Regions from separate parts of the Homo sapiens genome. Here all the other regions are linked to region 2. The links are contacts of gene promoters, found by promoter capture Hi-C in blood cells and fetal thymus (Javierre and others, 2016). All regions are on one chromosome and are shown on one strand. The core of a region is centred on a gene start or on the middle of the fragment in contact, and the rest is flanking DNA. Distances in the headings are between cores, read along the strand shown. Region 1 overlaps ELAC2 (elaC ribonuclease Z 2). Region 2 holds the start of SCO1 (synthesis of cytochrome C oxidase 1). Region 3 has its middle 22 kb from the start of ELAC2.

Evidence for each region. Contacts are between HindIII fragments. The CHiCAGO score rates a contact against its expected background, and 5 or more counts as called.
Region 1: a contact is called between a fragment that was not itself captured here and the fragment with the promoter of SCO1 in region 2, in 1 of 17 cell types (neutrophils). The highest score is 5.9, in neutrophils.
Region 3: a fragment that was not itself captured here is called in contact with the fragment with the promoter of SCO1 in region 2 in 1 of 17 cell types (neutrophils); the score reaches 8.1 in neutrophils.

Annotation. Positions count from the first base shown.
Region 1 is chr17:12,995,271-12,998,351 of GRCh38, forward strand. ELAC2 (elaC ribonuclease Z 2) reads right to left here. Exons shown (of 24, transcript NM_018127.7): 17 at 1,277-1,415; 18 at 670-708; 19 at 433-542. Among named protein-coding and RNA genes, the nearest start is that of ELAC2, 21 kb to the right of the region's middle. The HindIII fragment of the contact is 1,671 bases long and covers 997-2,667 here.
Region 2 is chr17:10,695,410-10,699,599 of GRCh38, forward strand. SCO1 (synthesis of cytochrome C oxidase 1) reads right to left here and starts at 2,124. Exons shown (of 6, transcript NM_004589.4): 1 at 1,826-2,124; 2 at 332-422. The coding sequence starts at 2,098. ADPRM (ADP-ribose/CDP-alcohol diphosphatase, manganese dependent) reads left to right here and starts at 2,185. Exons shown (of 4, transcript NM_020233.5): 1 at 2,185-2,258. RefSeq lists enhancers at 1,101-1,924, 1,925-2,749, 2,043-2,337, 2,053-2,102 and a silencer at 2,223-2,552. The HindIII fragment of the contact is 16,251 bases long and covers 1-4,190 here.
Region 3 is chr17:13,038,010-13,042,289 of GRCh38, forward strand. No RefSeq gene overlaps it. Among named protein-coding and RNA genes, the nearest start is that of ELAC2, 22 kb to the left of the region's middle. The HindIII fragment of the contact is 301 bases long and covers 2,497-2,797 here.

The DNA of each region.
Region 1 (3,081 bases), core at 582-3,081, 2.3 Mb after region 2:
CTGCCTCCGGCTCAGGCAGCACGGGCCACGGATGGCTCCAGCAGAGGGGACTCCTTCCCCTTGGGGTGAGGATGGTGCCACCTGCCAGCTAGCCACACACCTGCTATGGACATTCTCTGTGCTAGCCACTATTTGGGTGCTTGGCTCTGGAACTGTCTCATCAAGAAAAGCTGCTCGAAGTTTAGAAAGCAGCTCAGAACTCAAATGAGGACTGGGAAGAAATGCTTCTAAGAAAATAAGCATTACATGGGAACTATCTAATGGTTTCTGTCCTTCAGCCAATGCACTTCTCCCCTGCTTCTGCCATCTGGGACCATGTCAAGGGCAAGGCTGCTGGGGGATATTGGTAACTACCCCAGTGTCCACCTTGAGCTTCTGAAGGAGACGGCAGCAAGCAACAGCCCAGCGGGCCAGGCTGCCCTGGATGCTCACCTGATGTGGTGCAGGACCTCCTGGCACTGGTTGTGGTACTGCTGGAGCCAGGCTTTGAGCTGGTTGGGGGCAACCACCAGCAAAGGGTGAAGCGGCTTTCCCAAAGATGCCTGGAACAAAAAATGCAAGTGCCGACTCGACGACAGAACATCTCAATAAAAACTGGAGTGCCAAGAGGCATGGCGGATGATGTGTAAACCGCTGAAACTCAGAACGCCCATCAAGTGCCACACTTACCAAGGCGCGTTCTCTCTGCAGCAAGATACTTGGCAAGCCCTGGCAAGGAAACAGGAGACATGCGTCAGCCAGGCCCCAGGGCCATCCCCTCCGGGTTAGGGTCTGCAGCCCTCTCTCTTGCAGGAGTTGCCAGCCCGACGTCACCCACCAGCCTCTAACACAGCCGCAGTGGGGGTGGCACAGGCCGAGCCCCCTGCGCCATGGCCCTGAAATGTCACAGGCAGAAAGCGACACGACCCGTGCTGGGAAGAGGGCAACGGCCCAGGGCCCGGCACCCCAGGAGACCAAGGTGAGGGTCTCATAGCCACACCTCCTGCATCCGGTCAAAGCTTCCGCTGAGCAGGCCGTGTGAGATTCAAGACTCAAGGAAGGCTGGGTAAACTCAAACCTGTCCTGCTGCAGGAAAGGAACTGAACAGGAAGAGAAGACATTCTTGTGGCGCAGAAGGACTATGTTGAGTTTTGCAAAAAACCATTTCCTAGCCAGAGATGAGTAACAAAAGCTCTGGGCAAGTTTGGAAGCGGAGGAAAAGACGCAGCCAAAGGGCCAACTCAACGTGGCAGTGCCTCCTCCAGGCTCCAGCTTTGTGGTCCAGCCCAACACTCACCGTGTGGTGATCTGCGTGCAGGTGGGACACAAACACAGCAGCCAGGGTGCCCAGGACCCTGTCCACCTGGTCTCCGTAATGACGGCACAGCTGCCCAAATGTGCCCTCACCACAGTCCAGTAGCAGAGACGTGTCGGGGCTGCAGAAGAGAAGAGGAAGAGAGTCACTGCCACTAGGAAGACTGCTGATGGTTCAGAGGCTGATGTCTGCTTTGGACAGGACCAAGAAGCAACTGCAGAAATTTCTGTCTCTCCTGCTTTGCTTTGAGGAGCTAATATAAAAGCCAATTAATTTAACCATAAAGGTGATTTTACATGTGTCATCCTCTTTATAGCAAAGAAGTATCCATGGAACCCTGAAACCCTTTCAAGTAGACTTACACAAAGGCTGGGCATCAAAAAAAAAAAAAAAAAGTTTATAGGAGGCTTAAAGCATTTAGTCCTAACAATGAATCTGACCATGCAGATTGACTGTGGCCACAGCCTCTGTTGAAAATACCAGGACAGGCACTGGGCCATATGAGACTCTTTCTAGGTCCAGCTGCCATCGGACTTTTCCCCCTTTGCAAGTGGTCGGGGTTTCCTCAGCTCATGTCCTCAAAGACACCTGGTGCAGGGCGGGCTGCAGGTGCTTCATTCAGGGAGCCAGTTAACGCAGACTCCCAGGTGTCACTCGGGGTTTCTGACTTGGTTTTAGGCAGGGCTCTGGAAGTCTGGATTCTGACAAACTTCTTGGGCTATTCTGCTGTGCAGTCCATTTCAGAAGCTCTGCTCCAAGGCAGAGAGAGTGCTGACCCGCTCTGGCCTCCTTCATTCTCTGGGAGGAGCCACGAACACTGAGAGGGCTGCACCCATTTTGCAGAGAGAAGCCCCGGTGCTAAGACATTACCTTCTGGGGGAAAAAGGAGTCGGGAGGCGGAGGCAAGGTGGCAATAGCACCTTCCCATTAGCTTCAGCTGGTTCAAAAGCTGCTCGCAGGGTGTCAGGTCAAACTCAAAAAGCCCTTCTTCCCCCAGGATCTCAGCCCCCGGGAGAGGCCGGCTCACTCCAAGCTGCTTTATTGCATGTCCTCATCCACAGAGAAACACACCCCAGATTGTATATTTCTGATGTCAGGGCACATCTCGTCACTGCTGTATATATTTAATGCACTATTTGGTTGTTTATCATCCACCACTAGCATGTAAGATGGCAGAGCAAAATTTAAAACAAACCTGGTAATTCACAATCTTATTTTCTTCACATACTATCTGTAGAGATAACGTGTACATGTCACAACGCATTTGACTAATCTCTCTGCTGATGACCCCAGGCAAACCCAAGAGAATCAACTAAAAAACATGTCAAGGGGAATCCAATAAAGGTTCTGAACACAAATGTGCAAAACCCTAAAGCTTTTTAACATACTACCAACAAATGGCTGGGGGACAATACCATGTAGCAATCAAGACCCCAAGTCCCCGCTCAAACTTCAGATGCCCCACTTACCAGCTGTAGGAACCATAGCAAGTCACCTCTCTGAATATCAGGTCACTCATCAACAAAATGGGTAGTTATTCACCACTTCATAGGATTAATGTAAAAATTAAAGGAGCTAATTTCTTAGCTAGGTGTACTGCCCACAGTAAAATCAGCTGTTTATTAAAAGACATCATGGGATGAATTTTGGTGATTCCCAGGGTAAAGTTTGCTACTGAGGCTATAAAATGCAGTAAGGCCACGCTCCTCTCCTGGACACTCCAGTCGACATGACAAGTGACAGGGCTTGATACCGCATTTCAAATCGACTGGTGAGTACAGCAGGAC
Region 2 (4,190 bases), core at 874-3,373:
TTTAACATTGTTATGCAGTGGTATCCTAGCTTGGATCCTGGAACAAATAAAAGACATTGATAGAAAAACAAGTGAAATCCAAATACAATCTGTAATTTAATAGTTGTGTGCCATTTAAAATTTCTTAGTCATGAAAAATGTGTCATGGTTATACAAGATGTTAATATTAGGGGAAGCTGGGTGAAAGGTATGTAGAACCTATGCTATCTTTGCAATTTTTTGGTAAATCTAAAGTTGTTTCAAAACAAAAAGCTAAAAAACAACAAAAAAGGTGCTAGTCCATAGCCAGGAAGACCTTTATACAGGGCTGAGCAGATGATAATCTACTTACTCTCTGCCTTTTCTTTCTTGACGTGCTTCATTCCAGCCAGTAAAGCTCCTCCAATAGCAAATGTGATTGCTAAAGACTTCCAGGAAACAGGCTACTGGGGCAGGGATTTCAAACATAAAAATTCTAGTAAGATGCAAACATTTAACCATACAAACTTATTAAAGTAGTTTTTAATATACATACACACAGGCCATGATGTTAAATGTGCAAAATGTTTCAGGGATGAGAAAATGCTCAAAGTTTCTGTGGATGCAGTTAGGTCTGGGATCTGAACTACAAAGGCATTCATCTCCAGGGGAAAGTTCCCTAAGTCAGTTCTCTTCATGTAAATAAAAAAAAAAAAAAAAAAAAAAAAAAGCTCAAGTACCACGATTGTTACTATGTGTGACCCTAGCTCCAGTAATGACTTTAAAACCAATTATGGCCGGGCGCGGTGGGTCACGCCTGTAATCCCAGCACTTTGGGAGGCGGAGGCGGGTGGATCACCTGAGGTCGGGAGTTTGAGACCAGCATGGCCAACATGGTGAAACCCCATCTCCACTGAAAATACAAAAATTAGCCGGGCGTGGTAGCGGACCCCTCTAAACCCAGCTACACGGGAGGCTGAGGCAGGAGAATCGCTTGAACCCGGGAGGCGGACGTTGCAGTGGGCCGAGATAGGGCCACTGCACTCCAGCCTGGGCAAAAGAGCAAAACTCCGTCTCAAAACAAAAACCAAAATCCAAAAACACACACACAAAAAACAATTATCTGCTTATGCTGATACTGAGATAAATAGACCAAACGAAATTTGGGAGGTTAACTTAACTCTGGCTTCCAGAAGTAACAATGCCAAAGTAGAAGAGGAATCTAAAAGTGGAGCTTCTTGCAAATTACACCCATTATTTCTTTGTACCCTTATTCAACTCCCCAAATGAAGATGATGTTGGCCAACTAGACTAGGCCTAACTCATTAACCTTCCCGTAGCTCCAAAAACCCACTTCTCTTACCACAGGGTAGTGGCTCTCAAGTTATTTCTGGGTCAGAATTAGAACTCGAGAGAACCCCAAGAAAAAGGCAGATCCACACATAACTAAGTTCCACTTTTTGTTTCAATTTCAACGTATACATGGAACTCTGGATGGGGCTCAAGTGACAAATTATAAAAGTCCTCTGACTTCTCAATCACGGTAAACTTTAGGTTCATACCCTTAAGAAAACCTGAAACTTAATTTTTTTTTTTTTTTTGATGGAAACGCTAACATAAAATCCAAGTCGGGGCATCCAGCCACGTGGAGAGGGTGTAAAGTCTCAAGTTCTCTGTGGAGAACTGGGACTACCCGCAAGGCACGGGAAATGTAGGATGAAATTCCATGACCCAGGTAAGGCGCGCAAGCTAAGGACAACTTTAGGGGAGGCGGAGTAGTGTCTGAGGTTACGACCAAGTGGGATGTGGCCGCTGGGCTGGCCGACAGCCGCGACGAGCACCAGAAGGGTTCCAGGTGTGCACTCACCCCGGGCTTCGAGGGGCGCGTGGAGTCTCCGGGGCCCTTCTGCGACCACGGGGGTGGCGGCCTCGCAGTGCTGAGGGGCCGGGTTCCCAGGCAATAGCCAGGGCGCCCCGAGGCACGCCACGCCTCCGCTTGCCGCGCGCAGAACTGCCTCAGCAAGACTCTCGCAGTCCCCTCGGCTGGGCCCCAAAACTCGAGTCCGCGAGGCAAGAAGCGCCAAAGTTGGCCACCCAGAGGCCGCATAACTCGTCCGGGTACTAGGACCAGCATCGCCATGAGCCTCGGAGACCGGGTCTCCTTTGACCCTCCCCGCGATTTCCGGTAGCGTTCCGCTTCCTCCGGAAGTCGGAAGGAGTCGCTCTGTCCGTCCCGCTCGTTGGTGGCGCTGTTACATAGCCCGTAGTCAGAGGCCTTTCAGCCCAGGGGCCGGCGCACGGTAGGTAGTTCCCTGCGGCTGGAGGCGGGTCTGGCGCGGGCTGGGCGGTGCTGCGGGGCCGCGGGACAGCGGAGCGCCGGGAAGGGGGCTGCCTTAGGGGTCCAGGTGCGCGGCTGGGCCGAGGCAAGGCGGCCCCAAGCGCTGGGGGCCCCCGCTTTGGTCGTGGGCTTCGGTGACCACAGCTAGCTCCTCGCGCCGGGGACACCCCCACCTCGGAAGAGAGAACACACTGCCTAGAGACCCACGGGACTGGGCAGCCCCCATAACCCTACCTTGTCTGGCCGACTTTGTCAACCTCGTCCTGCCGGCCAAGAGGAAGTGCCAGAATGTTGACTCCTTTACATCTTTGAAATAGAAACCGACCCATTGCGATTGAAATAGTCTTTAACTTAAAAAAAATTGCTAATTAGGATAATTTGAGTGGTTAGGGCGGTCTGGAAGAACTTTAAATGCCCAGCGCTTCTAGTTATTTAACATTATAATGTAACCTAATTAATAAAGCATAGCAGTGTGTAAAGAAATATAGACAGCATGATATCCCATCCGTTAACTTAGTCTTCCTGGGTCCCAGTTTCTTAAAATACTCTCACGGACTCCCTTGCTCCCTACAGTTTCGTTATTTGAAGTTTGTTATGGGTTCCTCATCTGGAACTGCTTATGTTCCTTGTTAATGAGGCCAAGAGCATTCGTAGGTTTTTCGTTCTTTGTGAAAGTCTAACTTCATTTCATCTGCCTTTATTTATATCTTAATATCCGCAATATTAACCACTCCCTCCCCGCCCCTACCTCGGTGGTTGCTTTACAAAATACAGAGAAATAAAAAAAGGAAAATCGTCCTCTAATTATCTTCCTTAACTACAGATCCCGCTCCTGTGTGGCTTTTTTTTCCCCCATGGGACCGACTCTGAGTAGGAGAAACTCGTGCTCTGATGATTGTTGGACCAGAGCATGGTTGGTTTGCTTGTTTTCTATGAGTTAGCCAAACTAGCCAACTGTTCTGTTCTCTAACCCAGTAACGGAACATAGTGTTACCTGTGTTTCTTGATTCGCGGTTGGACTAGAATTTTCAGAAATTTCTGCCAAAGTTCTTAAATGTTTGTTCAGCACTTCAAGTCGTTAATCAAACTATTTTTTTCTATCTTATAGTTGCCTGTGGGTAGGATTTTTGCTCTTTTATCTTTGTGTATTTGTTTGCCCAGGGATAATTTTTTCTTGTAATTGACAAAAAGACATAAAAGTACCTTGTGTAGTCAGGCAGATAGCATACAAAATTATTGTTCATCTCTGATTGCCCAATTGTAGGTTACCTGATCAGCCACCCAAATTAAGATTGAAGTCAGTGTTTCTACCTGATCTATTAAATTTTATTTGCTAAAGTGCTTCTTTTAGTAGCAACTTCTTCATATTAATTTTATAATATTAAATAAAATGCTATCATTGAAAACAGTTCTTGGGGCCAGATGTGGTGGCTCACGCCTGTAATCCCATCACTTTGGGAGGCTGAGGTGAGTGGGTCACTGGAGCCTAGGAGTTTGAAGCTGCAGTGAGCTGTGATCGGGCCACTGCCTTCCAGTCTGGGCAACAAAGCAAGACTCTGCCTCTAAAAAATAAATAAAATAAATATAAAATATAGTTCCTGGCTCAAAGTAGGTGTTTTATAACTGCATTTTGGATGAATTGCTAGTAACACCTGAGCCTGATGGCAAGGACCCATGAAACTTTAGTGCCAGAAGGCGCCTACAGTGTTATCCCTTATAGACCTTATCACTTTTATTACTGCTGTGAAACCACCAAAGTCACCAAATGAGGTTTATGTTTTGTTTTCCAAGTTAGATATTTTTCTTTTCTTTCTTTTTTTTTTTTTTTTTTTTTTGAGACAAAGTCTCCCTCTGTCGCCCAAGCTGGAGTGTGCAGTGGTGCGATCTCAGCTCA
Region 3 (4,280 bases), core at 1,397-3,896, 2.3 Mb after region 2:
ACCTCTGCCTCCCAAGTTCAAGCGATACTCCTGCTTCAGCCTCCCGAGTAGCTGGGATTACAGGCGTGTGCCACCACACCAAACTAATTTTTGTATTTTTAGTAGAAACAGGGTTTCACCATGTTGGTCAGGCTGATCTCGAACTCCTGACCTCAGGTGATCCACCCGCCTTGGCCTCCCAAAGTACTAGGATTATAAGCGTGAGCCACTGTGCCTAGCCTACTCTGACTGTTTTTAAAATCCACATTCAAATCTTCACTTTTCCATAAATGCTTCCCAGGTCACTATTGGCTTGTTGATGAAACTGCAGACTCTTCCCTCACCCCCAGTTCACCCTGAGGAGTAGGACGATTGTGCATATGAAGGGTGAAAAGCTTGGATGGATTAGACTGGAGAGGTTGGGAGAGGAGCTCGTAAGACCATCTGCTCCCTTTCAGGTGTCATGTGGCATTGGTTTGAACTCTTTTCAGAATGAAAAGAACAACTTACGGGCTTCAGCAAAAAAGAACAGTTACTAGCTCAATGAAGTGTAAAGGCCAGAGGCAGACATGGTAGGGAATCTTCAGTGATGACTATATCTAGGCACTTGCTATAGTTTGGAAGTTGACCCTCCTAACCTCATATTGAAATTTGATCTCCAGTGTTGGAGATGGGGCCTGGTAAGAGGTGTTTGGGTCATGGGGGCATGTCCCTCATGAATGGCTTGGTGCCATCCTGGTGGTAGTGAGTGAGTTCTTGCTCAACTGGTTCTTTCAAGAGCTGGTTGATAACAAGAGACTGGCACCTCACCCTTCTCTTGGTTCCTCTCTCACCATGTGATTTCTGCACACACTGGATCCCTTTCACCTTTCAGCATAAATGGAAGCAGTCTGAGGCCCTCACCAGAAGCAGATACTGGAAACATTCTTCTTATACAGTCTGCAGAACCATGAGCCAAATAAACCTCTTTATTTTAAAATTACTCAGCCTCAGATATTCCTTTATAGCAACACCAATGTTCAAAAGATATCACCAGGAATTTGTCCCACTCTACCTCTGAGTCCCACGCTCCTCTTTGTCGGTCTAATTCTCAGATGGGCTCTACCCAGGAGGAAGCAGATGGATATTGGAAGCTCCAGGCAGATGGTCCATTATCTTAGTATCCCTGGCAGAAAGGGAAGGTCTTGTTCACAAATGTTCCAATGAAAGTCTTGGGGATGAGGTTCATTAACTTTCATTGGCTAGTTTGGATTGTATGCCCAACTCTGAACAATCCCAGAAGTAGGGGGACTTCTTATTTGCCAAGATGGTTTCCTTGCCCACCTATAGAATGAAGGGAAAGGGCCAGCCCATCCTAACCTTATAGACTGATGGCGAGAAAGAAATGGCCTCCTAAAGCAAAATAGGGATGATATTATCACCAGAAAAAATCATCTCTGGCCATCCAAAAATGACAGATGGTTCTTCATACACTCTTTTGAATCTGATAATTTTAGAAGTCTGCTGTCCTCTTTCTGTATTGGCCTTGGAAATATCTCTTGTCAAAGGACTGGGTCTACCCCTGCCTATCAGACTGTTTCTCCTCTTAATGCTGTTTTAAATTCTGTACTTACAACAAAGGAGTCACGCAGTCACACAGGCTTAATCAAACCTTGACAAAATTTGTCTTTATAGCTCATACTCATTCCAGGCCAGTAACTGGAAAGCCAGTTAACCAGAATATAGGATTGTGTTAGATCATGGTGGGCTGTACCAGATGCCCTTTTCAAGGCCCACACACCCGTTTCCTAGCTCCTAGGAATATCGTTCATAGCTGTGAGGGCTCACAGTCATGGTCATCGTTGAGAATTGTCCATGGCTACAGGGAACTGCTTTACCCTGAGATTACAAAAGCTCAGCCCTCTTACCTCAACTGCGGGCATCTCTGAAGAGTTACTCCAACTGCAGAGCTCCCTGTTGTACTGGCTGAGGCGTCAGCTGCAGCTACATTGTGGGTCAATTTTCCCCTCTGCCTATTCTTGCCTTTCCTCTTTCCTTACTGCTGTCTTTTCCACAGTGAACTTTCTATATGCAACTCATTCCAGAATCTGTTTCCAGGGAACCCAATAAGACATCTGGACTCCTCTCTTTATGGTCAGTCCACTTATTGCCCTACAAGAAATAAGTAAACTTCACCTTTTAAAGTCTCTAATTTGGGGAATAGGTTTTCTGTTGTCCTGGTCTAACCTCTGTCTTAGGTAGGCTCTGGGTGCCTGGGGTTTGGGGCATCTTCTTGGGACAATTTCACCGGAAACAACACACAGATGCAAGCATGCAACTGAATTGGCTGATTTCTTATTAGTTGGATGAATATTTTGCTGAATTTTCAAGTGATAAATGCAGAATAGACTTGGATGGAAGTGAAGTGATCACGCTTAGTGGGAGAGAGAAAAGCAGATTTGTTGTTCTGAGAGCTGTTGTCTCATGGGTGTCTCTGCTCATCACTCAAGGCTCAGTTCAATGTTACCTCTTATAAGAAGCTTTTCCTGCTCGTTAAAGGCACTTGTTGTCTGGCCTTTCTTTTTATGTTTTACATGTTTTTGTCAAGTCTTTGCACACAGACACAAATCATTACAAATACTGTATAATGTCTCCTCCAGAAAGGTGTTTTACAAACTTCTTTTAAGAAAACACATGGAACATAAGATTTATTATAGGAATTAGATCCTATACATCGTAGGAGGAGTTGGGGAATGAAGATCCAGAAAGAGGAGTTGAAGGATCGGAGAAATGTCATCCACCAGCCCTCCTGAAGCACCAGCATAGTGACGTTAAATTAAGCTTACCCTAAAGCTGTCTCCTTGCATATATTTTACATTCAGTCTCCAAGTTGCTCCCTACATAGTGAACTGGAACCTAAGCAGATGTGTAAACAGGTTGTCTCCTATTCTTGTACCAATCACCGAATTTTGGCCAATCACAGGCAGCCAACTGTTCAAACCCTGTTCAAACAAGGCAGAGGCTAAGCTGTAACTAATTTAGCTGCTTCTGTACCTCATTTCCATTTTCTGTACATCGCTTTCCTTTTTCTGTCCATAAATCCTCTCCGATCACACAGCAGCGCTGAGTCTCTGTGAACCTATTCTGGTTGGGGGAGGAAAGGGCTGCCCAATTTGCGAATCATGCTTTGCTCAATTAAACTCTGTCAATTTAATTTGTCTAAAGTTTTTTTTTTTTTAAATTTTAAACAGTGAACATGTCAGACTTTACAGGGCAGTCTTGGAGGCAGGCATGTCTAGCTGCCAGATTTTTAAATGTTTTTACCACAGTCCACAGTAAGAAACATCTTTTATATCAAGATCCGGAAGGAAGACACACAAACACATATATGAACAGTTGAGAACAAAACTTCCACAAAATAACACTAATTCCTACCTTGTCCAACTGAGGTATTATCATAAAATATGTTTTCTCTTTGTTACTGATTCTTGACACAGAACTCCTAAAACCCTTGGAATTTCCTGAGCTATAGGAGTGTCTTTTGTATGCTAACAAGATGACTCGTAGGGTGAAGTATAAGATAGCTTTAGAATAGGGGCTAGTTGTACAATTAAAGAGTTGGACTTTTCAGCTGCAATCCCCAACCTCCAAGAGAGCAGAGAAGGGCTAGAGATTGAGATCAATCACTAATGACCAGTGATTTAATCAGTTATGCCCACATAATGAAACCGCTCTATGAAACACAGAACTACAAGGTTTAGGGGAGTTCTCTGGTTGGTGAACCCATCTATGTACTGGGAGGGTGATGTACCCCAGCTCTACAGGGACAGAGGCTTCTGAGCCCTGGGTCCTTCCTGACCTGACCTTCTATCCTTCATCTGGCTCTTCATTGGTCTCCCTGATAATAAACTGGAATAGTAAGTGTAGCATTTTCCTGAGTTCTGTGACTCATTCTAGCAAATAATCATGATCCTGGTGGGCTGAGGGAGGTCACCAAATGCCAGTGGGACCTCAACTCCAGCCGCTGTCTAGATTCTTGACACTATTATGAGAAGGAATTCAAGGATGAGTTGGAAAATAGTGAAAGTATGGAGATTTATTGCAAAGCAAAAAGGACACACTCAAGAAATGAGCTTATGGGCATACCCAAAAAAGTCACATGGAAGGGACTTTGGCGTTGTTACCTTTATGGATTTCTTTAACACGAGCTGGAATATTCATGAAAGTTCCTGGAAAAAGATTTCTTGGAACCGTGGTGCCACCCAGTTTTACACCAAATATGGGTGTTCTAGGAACAGTCATGATGCTAGTGGATGTGTGTT